Regions from separate parts of the Homo sapiens genome. Here region 1 is linked to region 2. The links are contacts of gene promoters, found by promoter capture Hi-C in blood cells and fetal thymus (Javierre and others, 2016). All regions are on one chromosome and are shown on one strand. Each heading gives the region's core, a stretch centred on a gene start or on the middle of the fragment in contact. The rest is flanking DNA. Distances are from core to core; before and after follow the strand shown. Region 1 holds the start of ZNF227 (zinc finger protein 227). Region 2 holds the start of ZIM3 (zinc finger imprinted 3).

Evidence for each region. Contacts are between HindIII fragments. The CHiCAGO score rates a contact against its expected background, and 5 or more counts as called.
Region 1: a contact is called between a fragment that was not itself captured here and the fragment with the promoter of ZIM3 in region 2, in 1 of 17 cell types (total CD8 T cells). The highest score is 5.7, in total CD8 T cells.

What each region holds. Positions count from the first base shown.
Region 1 is chr19:44,207,738-44,214,106 of GRCh38, forward strand. It overlaps ZNF227 (zinc finger protein 227), which reads left to right and starts at 4,795. Exons shown (of 6, transcript NM_182490.3): 1 at 4,795-4,848; 2 at 5,353-5,507. RefSeq lists enhancers at 1-31, 42-91. The HindIII fragment of the contact is 4,986 bases long and covers 1-3,870 here.
Region 2 is chr19:57,140,369-57,146,451 of GRCh38, forward strand. ZIM3 (zinc finger imprinted 3) reads right to left here and starts at 4,834. Exons shown (of 5, transcript NM_052882.1): 1 at 4,491-4,834; 2 at 2,261-2,317. The coding sequence starts at 2,275. The HindIII fragment of the contact is 22,671 bases long and covers 4,795-6,083 here.

The DNA of each region.
Region 1 (6,369 bases), core at 128-2,627, about 13 Mb before region 2:
GCCTCACGTTTGGAGCAGTTCTTGCGTCCCCGGGTTGGGAGCGTCCTGGATCGGTTGTCGCTTGGTTAGAGGGTCTCCTGGCGTTCCGCAGCCAGCCTCTCCCACCTACTTGCCAGCTCTGCCACTTACTAGTGTTATAACGTTTTGTGAGTTAATCTTAATCTTTCTCTATCCCATTCTCCTCATTCCTGAAGTAGAGTCATTAGTAGGAGGTCCTTGTACTTTTATACGAATTATTCATTAAATGTCCAAAATACCGTTATGTGGTAGGTACCACTTATGTTCTAACAGAGAGACGAAGATAATAGACCTCTCCACACAATGTAGAAAAGAAAGCTGTCTTATTACTGAATAAGGACAACCACTGTATAGTATTGTAGGCAATCTAAAGAAAAATATTATTAAAAAATTCCGCCCTATGTGTACAGTCAAGCAGTTTTAAACTTTTTATACAATTCTACTTTTGACCACTATGTACATCAGTTCTCAAGATTAATGATTTTTCAATAAGAGGACTTGGTCTCATCATTTACTGCAAATTCTTTTATAAATTTATTCTAAATTTACTTGAGAATCCAGTGTTAGTTAACTAACTTTATCGAAAGTAATAAAACTTCTCTTACCTCATCTGCTAGCCGATTTACAGTTTAAAGAGAGGCACCTTGGTTAAACTCTTGCAGTGATAGGGACAGTGGGTTGTTATTTTCTCAGATGTTTATATTCAAAAGGGACAAATCTCAGAACTTTCACAAATACTTCTAGGTTGTAAACCTGGCTAGAGGCTTACATAGCCGCTAATGAAATTTACATGCGTATCAAAAGGTTAGAGAAAGGATTCAGAAGCACTAGGTTTCTTATGGAAATGCTCTAAGAAAAAGAAGAGGGAAGACGAACCCTAAAACGTACAGTTAGTAAGAGGCAGAACGTCCATATGAACCCAAGAAGTTGGAGCCTCAAGTCTGTGTTCATATTCTCCACGCTGTACATTTTTCTTAGAACCATATGAAATAATCGTGTATATGGTTTGTGGAAGTCTTTTTCTATCAGGTTTGGAAGGTGATCTGGGGCTTTAGAGTCTATATTCTCCTTATAGAAATAATGCATGACCATTATAGAGAGATTAGAAAATACAGAAATGTATAAAAGGAAATGAAAGTTACCCATATTCACTGCTGTATATTTAAACAATTAGCTGGGTGTGGTGGCACATACCGATAGTCCCAGCTACTTGGGAGGCTGAGGTGGGAGGATCGCTTGAGCTCAGGAGTTTGAAGCTGCAGTGAGCTATGACCACGGCACTGCACTCCAGCTTGGATGACAGCGAGACCCCGTTCCTTTAACCCATAATCTCAGGATTTAGAGATAACCACTGCTAACATTTTAAATGCATTTATGCATTGGTGCCATACCACCCACATGGTATTTCTCTAATTTTTCTTGTAGAAATTCCCAAACATGCACATACAGAAAATAGTGTTAATGACCCCCACCCCGCCATCATTTGTCTTTAACTCTTGTAAACATTTTGTCTATCTTATTGCATCTATTACTCTTCTCCCACATATGTTTTTGGTGGGAAGAGGAGGAATTTGACTATTTAAAATCAAAACCAAATCCTAGTCAGTCGGTAGAAATTAAAAGTAATTAACATAAAGTAATTATGAATGAAGAGCAAAGGAAAGCAAATAACTTCAGGGTTTTCTTTCCTGGCAACTAGGAGGAAGGTAGTTATGTGAAAAACCTAAAGGAGAGGGAATCATTGAGATTTGGAAAGGAATAGTTATGAATTTGGCTTCTTTATTTGGAATGTTTTACTCAGGGTCTTTTATTTATTTATTTATTTATTCATTTTTATTTATTTATTTTTGAGACGGAGTCTCGCTCTGTCGCCCAGGCTGGAGTGCAGTGGCGCGATCTCGGCTCACTGCAAGCTCCACCTCCCGGGTTCACGCCATTCTCCTGCCTCAGCCTCCTGAGTAGCTGGGACTACAGGCGCCCATCACCACACCCGGCTAATTTTTTGTATTTTTAGTAGAGACGGGGTTTCACCGTGTTAGCCAGGATGGTTTCGATTTCCTGACCTCGTGATCTGCCCACCTCGGCCTCCCAAAGTGCTGGGATTACAGGCGTGAGCCACAGAGTCCGGCCTACTCAGGGTCTTTTAGATCTGATCTGTTTCTCCCTTAGGCTGCATGTTACTTTGTTGCAGGAACTATGTCCCATTCTTTACCATGTGCTTAGCACCCAGCACAAGACTGGTAAGGAGGGGTTTAGTGTTTGTGGTTTGTGGAGCTGCCCAGTATCTTGAAATGGAAACCTGCAGATCATTTAGATTGTATTCAGAATTCCCAAAATGGATTTAGGAAAAAATAAAAGGAAATAATGTCAATATTAGTGACTCTTTATCTCACTTTTGGTGGGATGCATTTGCATAGTCTTCTAGTTTTTTTCCCAGTAATCAAAAGTTGATGCATGGTTATTGATAATATTTTAGTGATCAAAGCAAATTTTTGTAGAAACCTTCCATCCATAATTTATGTGTCCTGTGTTTATCCCCTGAGGTTAACATTTGCTAACTTTTTATAGGGTAGTCATGAATCAGGCAGAATTTCCAGTGTTTTACATGTATTTATTCATTTGTACTTGATATCAACCCTATTATAGTCTCCATTTTACAAATGAAGAAAAAGGGGACAGAAGAAATGGAAGCACTAGTATTTTAATCTAGATAGCTTTATACTAAGGCTGTAATATTAGCTACTACACACTACTTTTATTAGTCTACAAGGCAAGAACCCACAGTAAGTCTTATTAGAGCAGGGAATATTTAAGCTATGGATGAAGACCGTCACCCAGGAGGGAAAAGAGTAGCAGGTTATGACAGAAGGAACACCAAATACAAAGAATTAGAGGCTTTTTGTAGGAGTACAAGTAATCCACTATGGCTGGACATGTAGAGTGGAAAGTGGATTCCAAGAGAGAAACAGCATCTGGAAAATTCCTGTTTGTGCGACTTGTTAAAGCATTTGAACCTTCTCTTAAGGGCACTGGATAGACATGCAGGTGAAAATAATCAAATTTCCATCTTAGGAGATATACTTAACCTCTCTCTGCCTCTGGATCCCAAAGAGTAAACTAGAGGACATTATTTGTTTTAAAAAAGTTGTGAAAATGGGCTAAGTGTGGTGGCTCATGCCTGTAATCCTAGCACTTTGGGAGGCCGGGGCGGGTGGATCACCTGAGGTCAGGAATTCAAGACTAGCCTGGCCAAGATGGCAAAACCCCGTCTCTACTAAAAATACAAAAATTAGCTGGGCGTGGTGGGGAGGGGGGTGCCTATAACCCCAGCGACTTGGGAGGCTGAGGCAGGAGACTTGCTTGAACCTTGTGTGAGGGCGGAGGTTGCAATGAGCCGAGGTCATGCCACTTCACTCCAGCCTGGGCAAAAGAGCCAAACTCTGTCTAACAACAACAACAACAACAACAACAACAAAACAGAACAAAAAAAAAAAGAAAAAAGTTGTGAAAATGTAGTGAGGGTCCCATAGTCTGAATAGTTTGAACTAGTTCCTGGCACATACTTGGTTCTTTATAAGAGATAGTTGTATATAACAGAATAAAGAATATATATTTAGTAAATGAGAACTGCAAACATGTACTGTAGTAGATATGTGGATATTTTTAGGTATTGCTCTCTTCTTTCAACCCTCAATTCTTGGAAACATCAATTCCATTATACATTTAAGCAAATAAAGATCAAGGTTTAAACACTGAAGTAATAAATTTGTTCATCTTTCAAATTCAGAAACTCCTTGAGGAATGATTACAGAGGCCCTAGTTGCTTTGTGGAGTTGATCTACCATATGCCAAAGCTTGTGTTTTCTATGTCTAGCTATCCTCAGTAAGCAAGTTGTTCTGAATTATATGACTGTGCTATTAAGAAAAGTGGAAATCCATAATATATTCTGCCTTCGTTGCATTTTTTGATTGCTCTTTCATTCTTTTAGTATCTAAAGAGTAGTTTTTCTATTAGTCGATCCTGTTAAATGTAAAAACTTAAAGGGTTTCCTCTGCCCTTTTTTTTTTTTTTTTTGGAAGTGGTGGGTATAATTCTATTAGTACAGGATCACGTGATCTGTTTCTTATAATAGTTTTTTTTTTCTTTTTTTTTTTTTTGAGACAGAGTCTCACTCTGTCGCCCAGGCTGGAGTGCAGTGGCACGATCTTGGCTCACTGCACCCTCCAGGGTTCAAGCGATTCTTATGCCTCAGCCTCCCAAGTAGCTGGGACTACAGGCGCGCGCCACCACGCCCGGCTAATTTTTATATTTTTAGTAGAGACGGGGCTTCATCATATTGGCCAAGCTGGTCTGGAACTCCTGACCTCGTGATCCGCCCGCCTCGGCCTCCCAAAGTGCTGGGAGTCTTTTTTTATTTTAGGGCTCCAATTCTTCACATATTTGCTGTTACTTTTTGTTAATAAGAAAAACCTAAATTCCACTGACATCAGAGAACTGCTTCAGCCTGGCTAAACAGCAATAAGCCGTGAAGAGGATTCTGGATGTTGTAGTCCGGGAGCTCCGAGAATTTTGTCACACTCTCCGTAACCCTCTCTCACTCGCTCGCTCCGTTTTTTTTTTTGTTTTTTTTTTTTTCAAGCGCGAAGAGGGCGGCACCTGGATGGTTTTTCCTTCTGGAAGTTCTGGGAAACGTATTCCAGAACTCTGTCCGGAAACAATTGGGCCGCAGGAGCGCGGGCCTTCTGGGAAGGGTAGTTCAGGAGCTCTGGGCAGGCAGAGCCACTTCCGCCCCGGAAAGCGAGGCCGCCACCATCTTTTGGGTCCGGGAGGTGAGTCAGCCCTGCACCCCCACGACCCCTCTTGAACCTTTTCAGCCTGTGCTTGGGAATAGGCGCTCCCCAGCCATCAGTCTTGGGATGGAGAGGTCGCGGCCGCGGCGGAGGCCGAGAGGCCGAGGGCGGGAAGTTTGCTCTCCTCCCGCACTTGGCAAGCAGCGCCGCTAGTTCTGTGGGTATAATAAACAGCGAGTTACCTATGATCCGCGCTCCTGTTTCCTCATCTTTAAAATAGCAATAAAGATAGTCGTTACTGTGTAGGGTTGTAATTAGAATTAAACAAGATAATACGGGTCAAACCTTAGAACAGTGGTGGCACCTGATACTGGGTTGGCTCCTGCTATTGATACAGTGATTCCCTCACAAGCGCCCTTTTTACTGGAAGCTCCAGTGAAGAGAGAAGAAAAGTCAGGGCTTTATGCCATGGCCTTTCTGTCGTATCCTTCAGGAGACCGAGCTCTTCCCGAACTTTTACAGATCTTTTTTTTTTTTAAGAAGGATTGAGTCATCGGGCTCCAATGCGTGGGGATGTTTACCGCCGTTTATCCGGGATAGAGACTCCATCGTGCTGACAGCATCCTTTTATTCACCGCCTCCGAATTTGCAAAGAGGAGGAAGGAGGGACTTCTTGGCTTCTCCCAGCATAGCCCCAGGTACCTGCTCTTGAACGCACTTTGTTGTTCCATTTTCTGTCCTTTCAGTTAATCAAGTTTCCGTCACTCAGTAAGTTACTACTGAAAAATGATGAAATATTTGTTGAATAAATGTGAGAGTGGGTAGGAAAACTACTTGGAAATGAGTATTACCAATAACATCTTACCACTTTGATTTTAAGGCATTCGTCTGTGGACCATAGCTATTGATGAAGTAGGTCTTGTTATTTTGTTATGAGGAAATTAGGCAGAGTTTATGTTATTAAATACTTTCCCGAAGTTATTCAACTGATAGTAAGAGGTGGATTTGGGATTGAACCCAAGCATTCCTTTTCAGACTGTGTGATCTTTTTTGTTTGTTTTTGTTTCTTTGGTTTTTGTTGTTGTTTATTTTCTATTCCTTTTTCTGAGTCTGTGGTCTTAATCTCAATGATACAGTCGTCTTCAGTTATCTTAAATAGTAATCCATATGGCTACCGGTGAGTCGTTGGAAATCAGCCTTGGGAATGTAGGTATGGATTTTACTGTGGAAGACCTCAAAAACTGCACTGATGAATTTTGAATTTTTTAGAAAAATCCTGCAACATCTCACTTACTTAATTTCATTCCATGTCAAAATATGTCATATTCTAGTTATAGAAGTAATGAATGCTCATTATAGAGATGCACTATCCAATCCAGTAGCTATAAGCCATGTGTGCCCTAGGAGCACTTGAAATGTGTCTAGTCCAAATTGAGATGTGCTGTAAGTGTTAAATACACACTGGATTTCAAAAACTTTGTACAAAAAATGTAAGATGGCTCATTGATAATTTTTTGTATTATATGTCAAAATGGTAATATTTTGGATACATTGGCTTAA
Region 2 (6,083 bases), core at 3,584-6,083:
TTTCACCATGTTGGCCAGGTTGGTCTCAAACTCCTGACCTCAAGTGATCTGCCCGCATCGGCCTCCCGAAGAGCTGGGATTAAAGGGATGAGCCACCGCACCCGGCCTTTTTTTTTAAATTTTTGACACAGGTTCTTGCTCTGCCACCCAGGCTGGAGTACAGTGGCATGATCATGGCTCACTGCAGCCTCAACCTCCCAGGATCAAGCAATCCTCCTACCTCAGCCTCCAGAATAGCTGGGACTACAGGCATGCACCACCATGCTAAGCTCATTTTTTATTATTTGTAGACAGGGTCTCACTATATTGTCCAGGCTGGTCTTGAACTCCTGGCCTCAAGTGGTCTTCCTGCCTTCGCCTCCCAAAGTGCTGGGATTACAGGTGTGAGCCACCACACCCAGCCTTAGTATGCCTTTCCTGTCAACAGGAAATTGGTCAACAGGCTTAATTTTAACAATTGCAAAGAAACTACTATCTGCCTAACTGCATACAACTTATCCTTGGTCTTTCAGCTATCCATAATTTACTTTGATTCCGACTGGTACTAGTTAATGATTTTTCAGTTTATTGTGTGGATTTACAGAATTTGTTTCAAATACACACCGAACAAAGTTGGGAGAGGACACACATTCAAGACACCAATCATTTAAAAAATAGGTTGGGGTGAAACACACATGACACTGTTACATCTCAGGGCTTAGCAGTGGACCAGGTTTGTAAGAGCAATGGTCAAAAGATGCTTGAGGCTGGGCGTGGTGGCTCACCCTTGTAATCCCAGAACTTTGGGAGGCTGAGGCGGGTGGATCACCTGAGGTCAGGAGTTCGAGACCAGCCCGACCAATATGGTAAAACCCCATCTCTACTAAAAATACAAAAATTAGCCGGGCGTGGGCGTGGTGGCGTGCGCCTGTAATCCCAGCTGCTCAGGAGGTTGAGGCAGGAGAATCGCTTGAACCTGGGAGGTGGAGGTTGCAGTGAGCCAAGATCAAGCCATTGCACTCCAGCCTGGGTGGCAGAGGGAGACTGTCTCAAAAAAAAAAAAAAAAAAAAAAACAACAAAACAAAGATGCTTGAGCTGAAACCAGCCCAGTAATCCCATAGACAGTTGTGGGTTTTTTGTTTTTTGTTTTTGTTTTTGTTTTTGTTTTTTGGATAAACATAGAAATTGACCCTTCCGCTGTTAAAGCTTGAAACCTGTATTTGTTTTGTCTGAGTTCCTTCCTCAGGAAAAGACCTTCAGATCTCTCAAAGGCAGGCAGATCACCTGAGGTCAAGATTTCGAGGCCAGCCTGGCCAACATGGTGAAGCCCCGTCTCTACCAAAAAATACAAAAATTAGCCAGGAGTGGTGGTGCGCACACCTGTAATCCCAGCAACTCAGGAGGCTGAGGAAGGAGAATCGCTTGAACCTGGGAGGCAGAGGTTGCAGTGAGCTGAGATTGCACCACTATACTCCAGCCTGGGTGACACAGCGAGACTCCCTCAAAAAAAAAAAATCAACTGAAACTCACCACAACTGAAACTCACCACAACAGATGTCTCCTTGCCCCCTCCCTAGTCTTGCTTTCTTACACATTGTTATATTTCTTCCATGCTGTATAAACCCCTAGTTTTAGTGAGTTAGGGAGATGGATTTGAGGCTGAGCTCCCATTTCTTCACCTACGGCAGCTGATTAAAGCTTCTTCCTTGGCAATACCCATTGTCTCAGTCATTGGCTTTCTGTGCAGCCAGTAGCAGGACCTAGACCAAACTCCTGGTGTTTCCGTAACCAAGCTTTTTTTTTTTTTTTTTTTGAGACAGGGTCATGCTCTGTCACCCAGGCTGGAGTGCAGTGGCACAATCATGGCTCACTGCAGCCTCAACCTCCCAGGTTCAAGCGATTCTCCCACCTCCGCCTCCAGAGTAGCTGAGACTACAGGTGTACGCCACCACCACCACACCCAGCTAATTTTTTGTAGAGACGGGATCTCGCCATGTTGCCCAGGCTGGTTTCAAACTCCTGAACTCAAGCGATCCGCCTGCCTTGGCCTCCTAGATTGCTGAATTACAGGTGTGAGCCACCATGCCCAGCCTTGAGCTTTACTTGAAATGTTTCAGCTTTAATAGGAAAGCAGAAAGTAGAGTGTGTGTTACCTTTTAATAGAAGTATGGAAGGAAGGAGGAAAATATGCCAAAAGGTTAGCACAGTTAATTCTGAGCAAGAGGAACGTGGGTCATACGTTTATTCATTATGAGATTTAGATTTTTTTGAAAAGCTCACCTGGGAATTGTTCATTTCCTGTTCTTCACCAGTCAGTAAAGTCTTGGGAAGGCAGATCTGAGGGAAAATGGAAAAGAACCATGAAATAGCAGAATTCGCTTTGGAAGTTGGGGATCATCCAGCATAGAATGCTCCACACCCTGGATAAAAGCTCTCCCTAACCCACTCAGAAAAGCCCTGACTTGTACCTCAGTGATCCCCTTCTGAAGGTCTTTTTTTTTTTTGTTTTGGTTTTTTTGTGTTTGTTTATTTATTGAGACTGGGTCTCAAAGAAGAAAGTGCAAGCCAGGCACGGTGGCTCACGCCTGTAATCCCAGCACTTTGGGAGGCTGAAGCAGGCAGATCACCAGAGGTCAGGAGTTCGAGACCAGCCTGTCCAACATGGTGAAACCCCGTCTCTACTAAAAATACAAAATTGGCTGGGCGCGGTGACTCATGCCTGTAATGCCAGCACTTTGGGAGGCCGAGGCAGGCGGATCACGAGGTCAGGAGATCAAGACCATCCTGGCCAACACGGTGAAACCCTGTCTCTACTAAAAATACAAAAACAAAATTAGCCAGGCGTGGTGGCGGGCGCCTGTAGTCCCAGCTACTCGGGAGGCTGAGGCAGGAGAATGGCGGGAACCCGGGAGGCGGAGCTTGCAGTGAGCCGAGATCGCGCCACCGCACTCCAGCCTGGGCGACAGAGCGAGACTCCGTCCCAAAAAAAAAAAAAAAGAGAGAGAGAGAAAGCTAAACAGCAGTTCAACAGCACCTTTAAAACAAGCCTGTGCAAAGACAATGAGGCAAGCATCAGATCAGCTAGAGCACAGTAAGGAAGGCCGAGAGCAGAAACCATGAATCCTGAAGCAGCTGTGGTCGTGACGAATAACGCCGCAGTGAACATGGGATGCAGATAGCCCTTCAGCTTTGCCATAAGCGGGACAGCTGGATCATTGGTAATTCTTTGCCAAAAGCGTAGATTTTGGCCACGCGTGGCAGCTCACACCTATAATCCCAGCACTTTGGAAAGCCAAGGTGGGAGGATCAGTTGAGCCCAGGAGTTACTTTTTTTTTTTTTTTTTTAAGACCAAGTCTTGCTCTGTCGCCCAGGCTGGAGTGCAGTGGCACAGTCTCGGCTCACTGCAACCTCTGCCTCCCGGGTTCAAGGGATTCCCCTGCCTCAGCCTCCCGTGTAGCTGGGATTACAGGCATGCACCACCATGCCCAGCTAATTTTTGCATTTTTAGTAGAGACAAGGTTTTACCATGTTGTTCAGGCTGGTCTCGAGCTGCTGATCTCAAGTGATCCGCCGGCCTCAGCCTCCCAAAGTGCTGGGATTATAGGCGTGAACCACCACATCCAGCCAAGCCCAGGAGTTTGAGACCAGCCTGTGCAACATAGTGAAACCTCTGTCTCAATGTTTAAGTAATAAAGTTTTTATTTTTTATTTTATTTTATTGAGGCAGGGTCTCATTCTGTCACCCAGGCTGGAGTGCAGTGATGTGATCCCGGCTCACAGCAGTTTAAAAATCCCTGGCTCAAGCAATCCTCCTACCTTGGCCTCCTGAATAGTTAAGACTATGGGTGCATGCTACCACATCAGCTAACTTTTTATTTTTTGTAAAGAAGGGATCTTGCTATGTCACCTAAACTGGTCTCAAACTCCTAGGCTCAAGCAATCCTCCTCCCTCAGCCTCCCCAAATCCTGGGATTACATGCATGAGCCACCACACCAGCCAGGAATAAAGTTTTAAATAAGTAAATATGTTTTTAAAAAGAATAAACTTGCCGGGCACAACTTTAATGTTTATTAAAGTTTGAGGAGTCCAATTCTAGCACAAAAAATATATATAATTTTAAAAAACAGTAAATTGTAAATGCTTTCACCACAAAAATAGATTAATTAGCTTGATTTAATCATCCCCCCAATGTAAACATGTATCAAAACATCACATTGTACCCCATAAATAAACACAATTATTATTTGTCAATAAAAAGTTTTTAGAAGTAGCTGTGGGCCAGCAGTAATGCTAAGGACTGGAGGGCCACGAAAATAATTTTGAGTGTCCTGGGAGCATCACTTTTCAATATGACAACTAAAAAAAAAATCTAAACTACCAATGTAAAATATTTAGCTTATTCCAGCAAATAGGAGAGGTAGAAAAATGAAACTAAGTAAAAATGCAAAACAAACAAACAAACAAAACCCAGACATTTGGTTTTCAGGGAGAAAAAAAAATCAGCTTACCTCCAGTGGAATCTGGCATAAATTAGCAAGTTGATTGATTTCTGATGCCTGTGGTCTTTTCTTCTGAAAGGGACTGAAAATGAAAAGGCGTGTATACTGAAAAGCTACACTAATGACTAAAACTTAATCGGCCCTCTACCCGCTGTATTCCGCATCATAATCCAGTCAAGAAACAACCCAAAACACTCACTTCCTATCAAAAGCCCCACCTGATCCTATCAGGCCACATCAAAATTTCAATTCCCAATTCTTTCCTCGACTTCTCCAAAACTGAATGAACTCTCATAAAAATTGTGATTGTGAAAGCTTAATTTTCAAATCTGCCCAATCAGTTTCCAATGGAATTTTTTTTAAGTTCATGCAAGTAAAAATTTTTTACCTTAACTTTGAAATAGAAAGCATGGAAAACATTATCCAAATGTCAGAGGATGAAAATAAATTAAAACAACAAAAATTGGCTGGGCACGGTGGCTCATGCCTGTAATCCCAGCACTTTGGGAGGACAGGAGTTCAAGACCAGCCTGGCCAACATGGGGAAACCCCGTCTCTACTAAAAATACAAAAATTAGCTGGTCATGGTGGCACGTGCCTGTAATCCCAGCTACTTGGGAGGCTGAGGCAGGAGAATCGCTTGAACCCGGGAGACGGAGGCTTCAGTGAGCCAAGATCGTGCCACTGCACTCCAGCCTGGGCAATGAGCGAGACTCCATCTCACGTCTCAAAAAAAAAAAAAGAAAGGAAAAGAAAAAAGAAATAGGGCCAGCGGAGGTGGAACAATGCCTTAAAGTGCTCTCCGCCCGACAGAAAGAATTCAGGCTCCAACCTCCAACTGGCAAAATCTCTTCAGCTGTACTAATACTCTCAAAATGAGATCAACATGCCAATCCATCCCCACCCTAGTCTGGGTGTTGAATTTAAACACAGGCTACATGCCCTTGCCTGCAGACATGGAGACCTTCCAAAATTGAGCGTCCAACTGAATTCCAAGAGATTAAACCAGACTTCATGGGACAGGATGCACCAGACTAGACCTCCTCCCAGGAGAAGAGGTATCCAAAGATCGTATTAGCAAATGACCCTTGGCGGTGTGCGGTGGCTCAAGCCTGTAATCCCAACACTTTGGGAGACTGAGGCAGACAGATCACCTGAGGTCAGGAGTTCAAGACCAGCCTGGTCAACATGGTGAAATCCTGTCTCTACTAAAAATACAAAAATTAGCTGGGCATGGTGGTACACACCTGTAGTCCCAGCTACTCAGCTACTCAAGAGGCTGAGGCAGAATTGCTTGAACCCAAAACACAGAGGTTGCTGTGAGCTGAGATCATGCCACTGCACTCCAGCCTGGGCGACAGAGGGAGACTCCATCTCAAAAAAAAAAAAAAGAAAAAAAAAGCAAAATGACCCAGCCAGCCTGAATCCCAGCCGCCGTGTCGGACTACTATAGTCCCAGATACTTGGAAGGCTGAGGTGGGAGGATCAATTGAGCCCAAGAGGTCAAGGCTGCAGTGAGCAAGGATCTTGCCACTGCATTCCAGCCTGAGAGACAGAGCAAGCCTGCAGGTGAACGGAAAGGGGTGGAGTGATTTTATATAT